3 separate regions of the Homo sapiens genome follow, and all the other regions are linked to region 1. The links are contacts of gene promoters, found by promoter capture Hi-C in blood cells and fetal thymus (Javierre and others, 2016). All regions are on one chromosome and are shown on one strand. Each heading gives the region's core, a stretch centred on a gene start or on the middle of the fragment in contact. The rest is flanking DNA. Distances are from core to core; before and after follow the strand shown. Region 1 holds the start of THOC1 (THO complex subunit 1). Region 2 has its middle 22 kb from the start of CETN1. Region 3 has its middle 16 kb from the start of LINC01925.

Region 1 (3,053 bases), core at 179-2,678:
CCTCCGCTGTCCGGGTTCAAGCGATTCTCCTGCCTCAGCCTCCCAAGTAGATGGGATTACAGCGCCCACCACCACGCCTGGCTAATTTTCGTATTTTTAGTAGAGACGGGGCTTTGCCATGTTGGCCAGGCTGGCCTTGAACTCTTGACCTCAGGTGATCCGCCCGCCTCGGCCTCCCGAAGTACTGCATTTACAGGCGTGAGCCACTGCGCCCGGCCGCCAATATGATCTTGGATAGTCCTAACAGTTACTCTTAGCAGGCTTTCAAAGCACCAGAGATTGCAGCAAAACGCACACAAAGAAAATGATTATGATGACATACACAAAATATAATCCATTTAAAAAAAACCTCACACTGTGTGTGTGTGTATATATATATTATACGTATACGTATATATATGTATATATATATATATATAACCCTGCAAACAAGAAAACTACTTACTACAAAGGATGAATTTTTCTTTCACACAATTTTCATCCTGGCATCCCTATAACTACCAAAACACAGCCGAATATCTGAGAAATGTTGGTGCAAATGCTAGAGACGAATAGAGTCAGGCAACTTAAAAGTGTTCTTCATACTTACGTTGCTGTGACGAGCAACATAAAAAGAACAGAGTGTCTAAAGTCAGAAAAACCACTGAAGTCACAACTTTTTGGGGGGTGTCAGCTTCTACCTCATGTACCAGGAATAACCAACTTAGCCTACTTCACAGTGTTACTCTAATAGTTAAATGAGAAAGTGATCTGTCAAGTGTTTCCCAAATGCTCAAAACCACCCTTCCACATTGAGCAAGAATAAAATAGCATCTGGTTACCCTTCCCAAGGTGATCTATCTGCCTTTTCCCGCTTAGGATCTCATCGATCGCTTAGGAGTTAGACACGGTGGGTTAAGGGGTGGTGAAGAGACGGCGGGAACAAGCACTTGGTAGCTCAGAAGGCTAGGGCGGGAGCCAGGTCTTTGGACTGAAACCACTCCCACCCTCCCCCTTCAGCAGCTCCCCTTCCCCTTCTCGAGACACCTGCCCCACTAAACGAGCTGAGAGGATGGACCCAACCAGCAGTAGTCTGCAGGTGGGCACTCCAAGCGGGGAGCCGAGGCGCCCAGCACGCAGTCCGGGGACCCGCTGGAGGGTGGGCGGAGGCGGACGGCCCAGCCCACAAAGAAGAGGCGGGTAGTGCGTCTTTCCCTACCCCTCAACCTCCGACGGGGCCCGGAGCGGACGCTGAGGCGGACACACCTCTGTCTCACTTTACCCCAGGGCAAAATTCGAGTAATTTCAGGGAGAAGAGGACAAAGCATAGCGCCGGGTCAGGCCTGCACCCTCCCCTCTACAGCTCACCGTAAACCGCGTCCGCGCTTCGGGCAAACTGAAGAGCGGCGGCGTCGGAGACATCTTCTCGGCTGCGCGTGCCCGCCACTGCGCTGCGGCGCCTGCCGATGACGTCAAGCCAGGAGCAACGAGACTGCGGTCTCTCTGAGCCCGGCTAGAGTGGCCTGTGAACACCGGTCGGGCGAGCTGGCAGTTGGGAGTTTCCCTAGCGACTCAGTTCGGGTGGGCGTTGGGCGCCTGAGTCAGCCAAACAGCCTACTCGGGGTTCTTGGGTAGCCTTTGGGGTGAGGGGACTTGGGCGGCCTTGGTCTGTAAGCTCTGCGTTCCCGGGCGTGGAAGAGACTGGCCGCGCACATGCGTTTCTGTGGTTTTCCTGGTTTGGGGAAAGCGGGTAAATGGTGGCTGGTTGCGGCTAACTGGGCCGCGCTAAAAGGTAACCCAAGGCAGGTGGATTACCTGGGGAAACAGCTGGAGCAGTGGTCCTGGGCCGCCAGTCCGCGGTCATCCCGGGAGCTTAAGATGCGGAGTGGTGATAGGCTCCGGATGTATGAGCCCTGTGGCTCAAGGGCGCTGTTCTCTCTGCTCCGAAATAGAAATAATACCTGTCTCACAGAGCTGTTGAAAAGCTCCACTGAAATAATGACCGCAAGTGTGAACTGTAAAGCAATGTAAGTAGTATTTATTATTAAAAGGTCTCTACTGAAAGAAAGAGACCTAGGAGGAATGCAGTGCCCGGCGCTGATTGGAAAACGGGTGGCGCTGCGTCCTGGGCCGAGGCTTCCCTAGCGAAAACCTTGTCTCCCTCCATTTCGTCCCTTGCCTGCCTTCCCAGGAGAGACGTGGCCGATAGAAGCCGAGTGGCAGTAACTCTAAGTTGGAGTTACACGGTGGAGAAGGAAGCACTGACTCAGACTCGGGTAACTTCCTCTTATTCCCTCACACGTGTATCTTGTTCCCTTCTTCGAAGTCTGTAAATTTAAAATCCTAAGCCCCCCAACAACTGAACAGACCCCCGTGAGGCCAAGGGGACACCAGCAAAATCTTAACAACTGAGTTCCCAGTCATAACGGGATGGGAGGTCAGACGGACCTGGTTATACCCTCTCCCTTTTGTGATTTAGAGGAGATAGCTGACTGGCCATAAAGTTAAAATAGAGGCCAGGCGCGGTGGCTTACGCCTGTAATCCCAGCACTTTGGGACGCCGAAGCAGGTGGGTCACCTGAGGTCAGGAGTGGATCACCTGAGGTATGGCAAACATGGTGAAACGCTGTCTCTACTAAAAATACAAAAATTAGCCGGGCGTGGTGGCACGCACCTGTAATCCCAGCTACTCAGGAGGCCGAGGCAGGAGAATGGTTTGAACCCGGCAGGCGGAGGTTGCAGTGAGCGGAGATCGTGCCATTGCACTCCAGCCTGGGCGACAAGAGTGAAACTCTGTTTCAAAAAAAAAAACGGAGATGATAGGACTGACGGAATTGACTCCATGGCAATAAGATACCAAAGTATAAACAGGACCTAAGCCCATGCCAAGCAAGGGTTAAAAGTCATGCATCCCTACGCTTGAAAAATAAACTATGTTCTCACTATGCTTCAAGGTTTTTCTTTAGCAGCTAAACAAGCGCTGGCCTCACAGTATTAAAACAATTTGCAGTTCATCGACCACCAGACACTAACAACCCTCTCCCACCAGCCGTAACTACAGCTTTTATTGATTT
Region 2 (3,053 bases), core at 254-2,753, 290 kb after region 1:
ACATATCCTCCTGAGAAGCTGGGTACCCCAATCTAAAATTATTAAGATTCTTAATTCATGAAGTTTTGAACAAAGTTTGGTCTCATTAAAAAAAAATTGATGGTGCTGCACAAAACACAACCATCTCTTTCATCTGAATGTTTTGAAAAGCTGCAAAAGTTATGGATTCCACTGTCAGAAGGAGACTCCTTTGATAAAGGAATGTTTTTAATTATTTAAATACCTTCACAGCAAGAGCTTACGGTGGGTTGGTTTCTATAAGTATTACTGGCGTCTCACTGCAGGTAACTGTGTAACTGTCAAAGCCACTGATTAAACAACCTGGCATGAGGCAAAGTATCAGCATGAGGATGTGTATCCCACATATAAACATGCAGCGCCGTCTTAATTGTATATTTTTAAATAACTTAAAGAATGTCACTGGATTGCTTGTAACTCAAAAGATAAATGTGTAAGGGGTGGATGCTCCATTCCCCATGACGTGCTTGTTTCACACTGCATGCCTGTATCAAAACATCTCATATACCCCATAAATATATACACCATGTACCCACAAACATTTTTTAAATAATTTAAAAAAATTTTTTAAAGTGCTGCATGCAATATTAACAGCCATCTGTTTGCTATACTTTATTCACTTTCACCTCTGAGTAAACTGAAGTATTATTATATCCTAAACCACCACAGACTTCCAGGGTTCAGGTAGGAGGAATGCAATTCAGCCACAGACCTCTGCTGGCTTTTTATCTTTTAAAAGATAGTTAAAGAATAACATCTGCAGGGCATGGTGGCTCACACCTGTAATCCTGGCACTTTGGGAGGCCGAGGCAGGTGGATCACTTGAGGTCAGGAGCTCGAGACCAGCCTGGCCAACATGGTGAAACCCTGTCTCCACTAAAAATGCAAAAATGAGCCGGGCATGGTGGCGGGTGCCTGTAATCTCAGCAACTCGGGAGGCTGAGGCAGGAGAATTGCTGGAACCCAGGAGGCAGAGGTTGCAGTGAGCCAAGATCGCACCATTGCACTCCAGCCCAGGTCGACAACAGCGAGACTTAGTCAAAAAAAAAAAAAAGAATAACATCAAAGACAAAGGATTATTTTCCAATCCATAGGCAATTAGGAGTAGCCTTGAGAATTTATGAAAATAGAATTCTCTATTTCTTCTATCCCTTGGGAAAACATTTTCACATATAGAGAGGTAATTGCTATCCCTGGAATCTTTTCTGACTGCTCTTGTTCAAAATGAGCACTGAAAAGGCTTTAAATGAGGTCAAAGTGGAACTGGCCAAAACCACTAAGTATTCTTTTTAACTTAGACAGCTAGATAAGAATACACAGAATTCTTCCCTCTCCTCTTTTCTCCTTTTCTTCCCTCCTATTGTCTTTTTTTTCTTTTTTTCCAAAAAAATTTAACAACACCTACTCTGTACAAACATTATACTAGACACTTGGGATACAGAGATAAATAAGAAGTGGTCCCACATGTCAGATCACCAACTATGGAAGTCAAAAAACTTAGGTCGTTCATTTGTTCATTCATTCATACAAATAGTACCTATTGAGCACCTACTGTGTACTGTGTGTAACCTACACTGTGGTCACAATAAAAAGCTCAGTTACCTAGGGATGTCAGTGAATGCTCATGCCACCTGGGCCAAAAATAAAGGGATGGTAGATGTTCAGGTTATCAATTTTCCCCCCTGCCTGTGTATTTCAAATATACGATAATAATAAAAACAATAAATGTGTTCAAATGATCCACTGTCTAAATCTTTGACATAAAAAATTATCACTAAGAGTAAATGGAATAAAATACCCATAAGGCACTAGGAGGTATCAGTTGAACTGAAACACAGTAAAATGACTTATGTCAAAGATAAGAAACTGGAGACTAGAGGATCCCTGCAGAGTATGTAAAGATATCTTTCCCTTATTATGTAACTTTCTTGCCTGAAAGATGTGCCTCACCTGTTAAAACACTTGTATCTGCCTACTTAGACTTGAAAAAAGATTATTTTTCAACTCTTCAAAATGGAGAATGTCAGTGTACTTTGAACCATTTGTCAAAAATATAAAAAAGCAGCATCCTCCCATCAGGGAAGATGAAAATTTTCTTTTCTTTTTTCTTTTTTTTTTTTTTTGAGGCGGAGTCTGTCGCCCAGGCTGGAGTGCAGTGGCGCAATCTCGGCTCACTGCAAGCTCCGCCTCCCGGGTTCACACCATTCTCCTGCCTCAGCCTCCCGAGTAGCTGGGATTACAGGCGCCCGCCACCACGCCCGGCTAATTTTTGAATTTTTAGTAGAGACAGGGTTTCACCATGTTAGCCAGGGTGGTCTCGATCTCCTGACCTCGTGATCCGCCTGCCTCGGCCTCCCAAAGTGCTGGGATTACAGGCGTGAGCCACGCACCCGGCCCAAACACCATTATTTGTAATGGTATATATATATATACACACATGCCATTATTCGTAATGGTATATACATATATACATGCCATTATTTGTAATGGTATATATATATATATATACATATATATACATGCCATTACATTATTTGTAATGGTATATATATATACACACACACACACACACACACACATATATATATATACACACCATTATTTGTAATGGTGTGTGTGTATATATATATATGTATATATACACACCATTATTTGTAATGATATATATATACACACCATTATTTGTAATGATATATATACACACCATTATTTGTAATGGTATATATATATGTATACACACACACACACACACACACACACCGTTATTTGTAATGGTATATATATATATACACCATTATTTGTAATGGTGTGTGTGTGTGTATATATACACATATATATGTGTGTGTGTGTGTATATATATATATATATATATATATATATACACACACACCATTATTTGTAACTGCACCCAACAACGCACATCTTTCAGCTTCGTATGTATATATTTTTTGTGAAGTATCTTTTTCTGCTATCATAGCCATTAAAATCAAGTATATAGAAATAAACTGAACTGAGAACCAAACCCTTTGAGGGTT
Region 3 (3,053 bases), core at 354-2,853, 260 kb after region 1:
CTCTTTTTGCGCTTATTTCTTCAGACTTCAGTACAAAGGCTTGTTTAGATGCAGTCAGATTGACTTGGTGATGTCTTTCCATAGCACTACCTGTGACGTGTTATGTTTTCAGGCTCAAAATTCTTTTTAACCCAACAGGCTTTGCCATGTGGTAGGAAAAAAGAATGAGCTACTACCATAGCTAAAACACAGAAGCAACCCAGGTGTTCATCTGATGAATGGATAAGCAAAACATGATCTATACATACCAGGGAATATTATTCAGCCTTAAAAAGGAAGAAAATTCTGAGATATTTTACAACATGGGTGAACTCTGAGAACATTATTCTAAGCAATAAAGCCAGTCACAGAAAGACAAATACTATATGGTTCCATTTACAGAAGGTACCTAGAGTCATCAAACTCATAGAGACAGGAAGTGGAATGGTTGCCAGGGACTAGGGCGAGGAGGAGAGAGTGTGGAGTTAGTGTTTAATGGGCACAGAGTTGCAATTTTACAAGATGAAGAGCTGTGGCGATGGATTGCGGTGATGGCTGCACGTCATGAGTGTATTTAATACCACTGAACAGTACACTTAAAAAAGGTTAAAGCTGAATGTAGTGCTGCTCGCCAGTAGCTCTAGCTACTTGGGAGGCTGAGGCAGGAGAATTGCTTGAGCCCAGAGGTTTGAGGCTGCAGTGAGCTATGATTGTGCCACTGCACTTTAGTCTGGGTGACAGAGCAAGACCCTGTCTCAAAACAAAAACAAACAAACAAAAAATCACACCACTGCACTCCAGCCTGGTGACAGAGTGAGATTCTGCCTCAAAAAACAAAACAAAACAAAAAAAAGGTAAGATAATAAATTTTATGTGTCTCTCACGGTAAAAAAAAATTTAAGACAAAAAGAATATACTGGGAGTCATGCTGCTTGCTGGCTTGGCCTTGAGCAAACCGAAGGCTGTAGGCAAGTCCCCCAACCTCTCTGGACTTCCAAATCCTCCCTTGAAAAGCAAGGTCCTCCCCAGCACTTAATCCTGGGAGCTATTCCTCCAGGATCTCCAGCTTTCTCCCTTTTAAAAATGGAAAGGACCTCCCTAGAGTGATATGTTTTGTAAATTTAATTTTGGGACTTTATTTCTTTTCTCAGAACATGTGTCTTAGAAGATGAAACAGAGAACTAAGTTAACTGTCCAAAATGATTCAGACCAAAAAGAAGTGCTGATAAGGCCAGGTGCAGTGGCTCACACCTGTAATCCTAGCACTTTGGAAGACCGAGGCAGGGGAATCGCTTGAGCCCAGGATTTCGAGACCAGCATGGGCAACATGGCAAACCCTGTCTCTACAAAAAAATACAAAAACTAGCCGGGCATGGTGGTGCATACCTGTGGTCCCAGCTTCTTAGGAGGCTGAGGTGGGAGGATCGCTTGAGCCCAGGAGGTTGAGGTTGCCATGAGCAATGACTGCACCACTGCACTCTAGCTTGGGTGACAGAGCGAGACTCTGTCTCAATTAAAATAATAATAACAAAAAAATGCTAAGAAGTCAAATTTTTAGCCTTGCCTGACATATCTGACCTCCCTTGACCAAATAATGCAATCTCTGTTGTCCTACTGTCTTGCCTGGAGGACTGAGCTAGATGCAATCAGGTCTTCTGGTGTCCAGATGGTCATTGTAACACAATGTCTCTGGCAACCACAAGGAGAAAAATACAACCTTTGAAGCTGAGTCCCAGAAGACAGAATCTTAATTGAGAACAGTAGAAAGAAATCCATTTCAATAGAAAATTATCCATAGTTTAATGTGGATTTGTCTGTAATTACTCCCAAGGAATTCTTCACTTATCAAAGTCATTGTGCCTAAATTAGATAAGTCATTTTTCTCAGAGAAACAAGTTGAGAAAGCAGAAGACCACACCCAAATCAGGAATACTTGGCACAGCAGAAGCAGCGTGGGGTGGGGCTGGGGATGGAGGCAGGTGAGTCTGATGATTCACTCACGACCAGAGCAGGGCTTGTCAAAGCATCGACATCCGCCCTGTCCCTGGGCTCCTGTTTCCTCAGAGCACATAATCAGGGGCCTTCAGTTCCAGGTGGTCTGTTTTCCCAATCTACAATGCCTGTTGTAACATCTTATCCCTCTTCCTCTTTCCAATTTCCTCTCCCCTTCCTCTTGACCATTTCCCCTTCTCCTCTCTCCTCCTCCCCAGTAACCCCTCTGCATAAGCACGCTCACATATAGTTCCATAAAGCCAAATCCAAGACTCAATCTTTTATTATATGAGAAAACTAAAAACAAGAGTGAAACATCAGAGATTATTTTCCAACATAATAGAATTTTCATATCAGAAGTATATCTAGCAAATCCCTACGCAAATCTCTGCGTTTGACCATTGAGTCAACAGGCCTGAGGAGCTTTTGTGATTGTCTCCAGTTGATATACAACTAAAGTAGGAATTAAAACCAGGGCTCCCAATACCCAGACATTCTCCACCACCATCTGATGACAGTAACACCTTAGACATGTATAAAGTCTGCACTGTAGAAGCACACTTTCCCATATGGGACTCAGCCTAGGCATTAGGCCAGCTGGCTATGTATGACTCCTATTATTACTTATACAAACAATAAGGCTAAGAAAGTGAGTGTCTTCCATTGGGCCACCTGTCTATTAAGTGGCAGAGGCAGGGCTTGAACTCTGGAGTCTTGGGCCAACTGCTGTCTTCCATTGCATGCTCACACTTGTATTTTAGGGTCAAAGGTGCACACACAAATTTATGCATGGCAACAGAAATGATCTGGTTCAAGTAATAAACTCCTAAGTGTGAAGTTAATGCCATAAAATGATTCTGGGAGAGTCTATTTGCTCAGATGGTGCTTCCTGGCTCAGCCTGGAAGCATCATGGCCAGTCTGGATACATTCACCCAAAGTCTCCTCTTAAATTTAGTACTCTGTCTTTAGGGCCTAAGTATTTCATCTGTTTTATCATCAATCTCATCCTGAAACTCAGGATAGAGCGAGCAGTTGCAGTCTAGGGCAGGAACACCAACAAAGACATGAAATATCTGTCAGA

The links. The method cuts DNA at HindIII sites, captures the fragments that hold promoters and counts their contacts. A CHiCAGO score of 5 or more calls a contact.
Region 2: a fragment that was not itself captured here is called in contact with the fragment with the promoter of THOC1 in region 1 in 1 of 17 cell types (monocytes); the score reaches 5.1 in monocytes.
Region 3: a fragment that was not itself captured here is called in contact with the fragment with the promoter of THOC1 in region 1 in 1 of 17 cell types (M2 macrophages); the score reaches 5.1 in M2 macrophages.

What each region holds. Positions count from the first base shown.
Region 1 is chr18:266,619-269,671 of GRCh38, forward strand. THOC1 (THO complex subunit 1) reads right to left here and starts at 1,429. Exons shown (of 21, transcript NM_005131.3): 1 at 1,348-1,429. The coding sequence starts at 1,401. RefSeq lists an enhancer at 1,298-1,767 and a silencer at 2,158-2,337. The HindIII fragment of the contact is 5,170 bases long and covers 1-3,053 here.
Region 2 is chr18:556,455-559,507 of GRCh38, forward strand. No RefSeq gene overlaps it. Among named protein-coding and RNA genes, the nearest start is that of CETN1, 22 kb to the right of the region's middle. The HindIII fragment of the contact is 5,540 bases long and covers 1-3,053 here.
Region 3 is chr18:530,260-533,312 of GRCh38, forward strand. No RefSeq gene overlaps it. Among named protein-coding and RNA genes, the nearest start is that of LINC01925, 16 kb to the left of the region's middle. The HindIII fragment of the contact is 6,978 bases long and covers 1-3,053 here.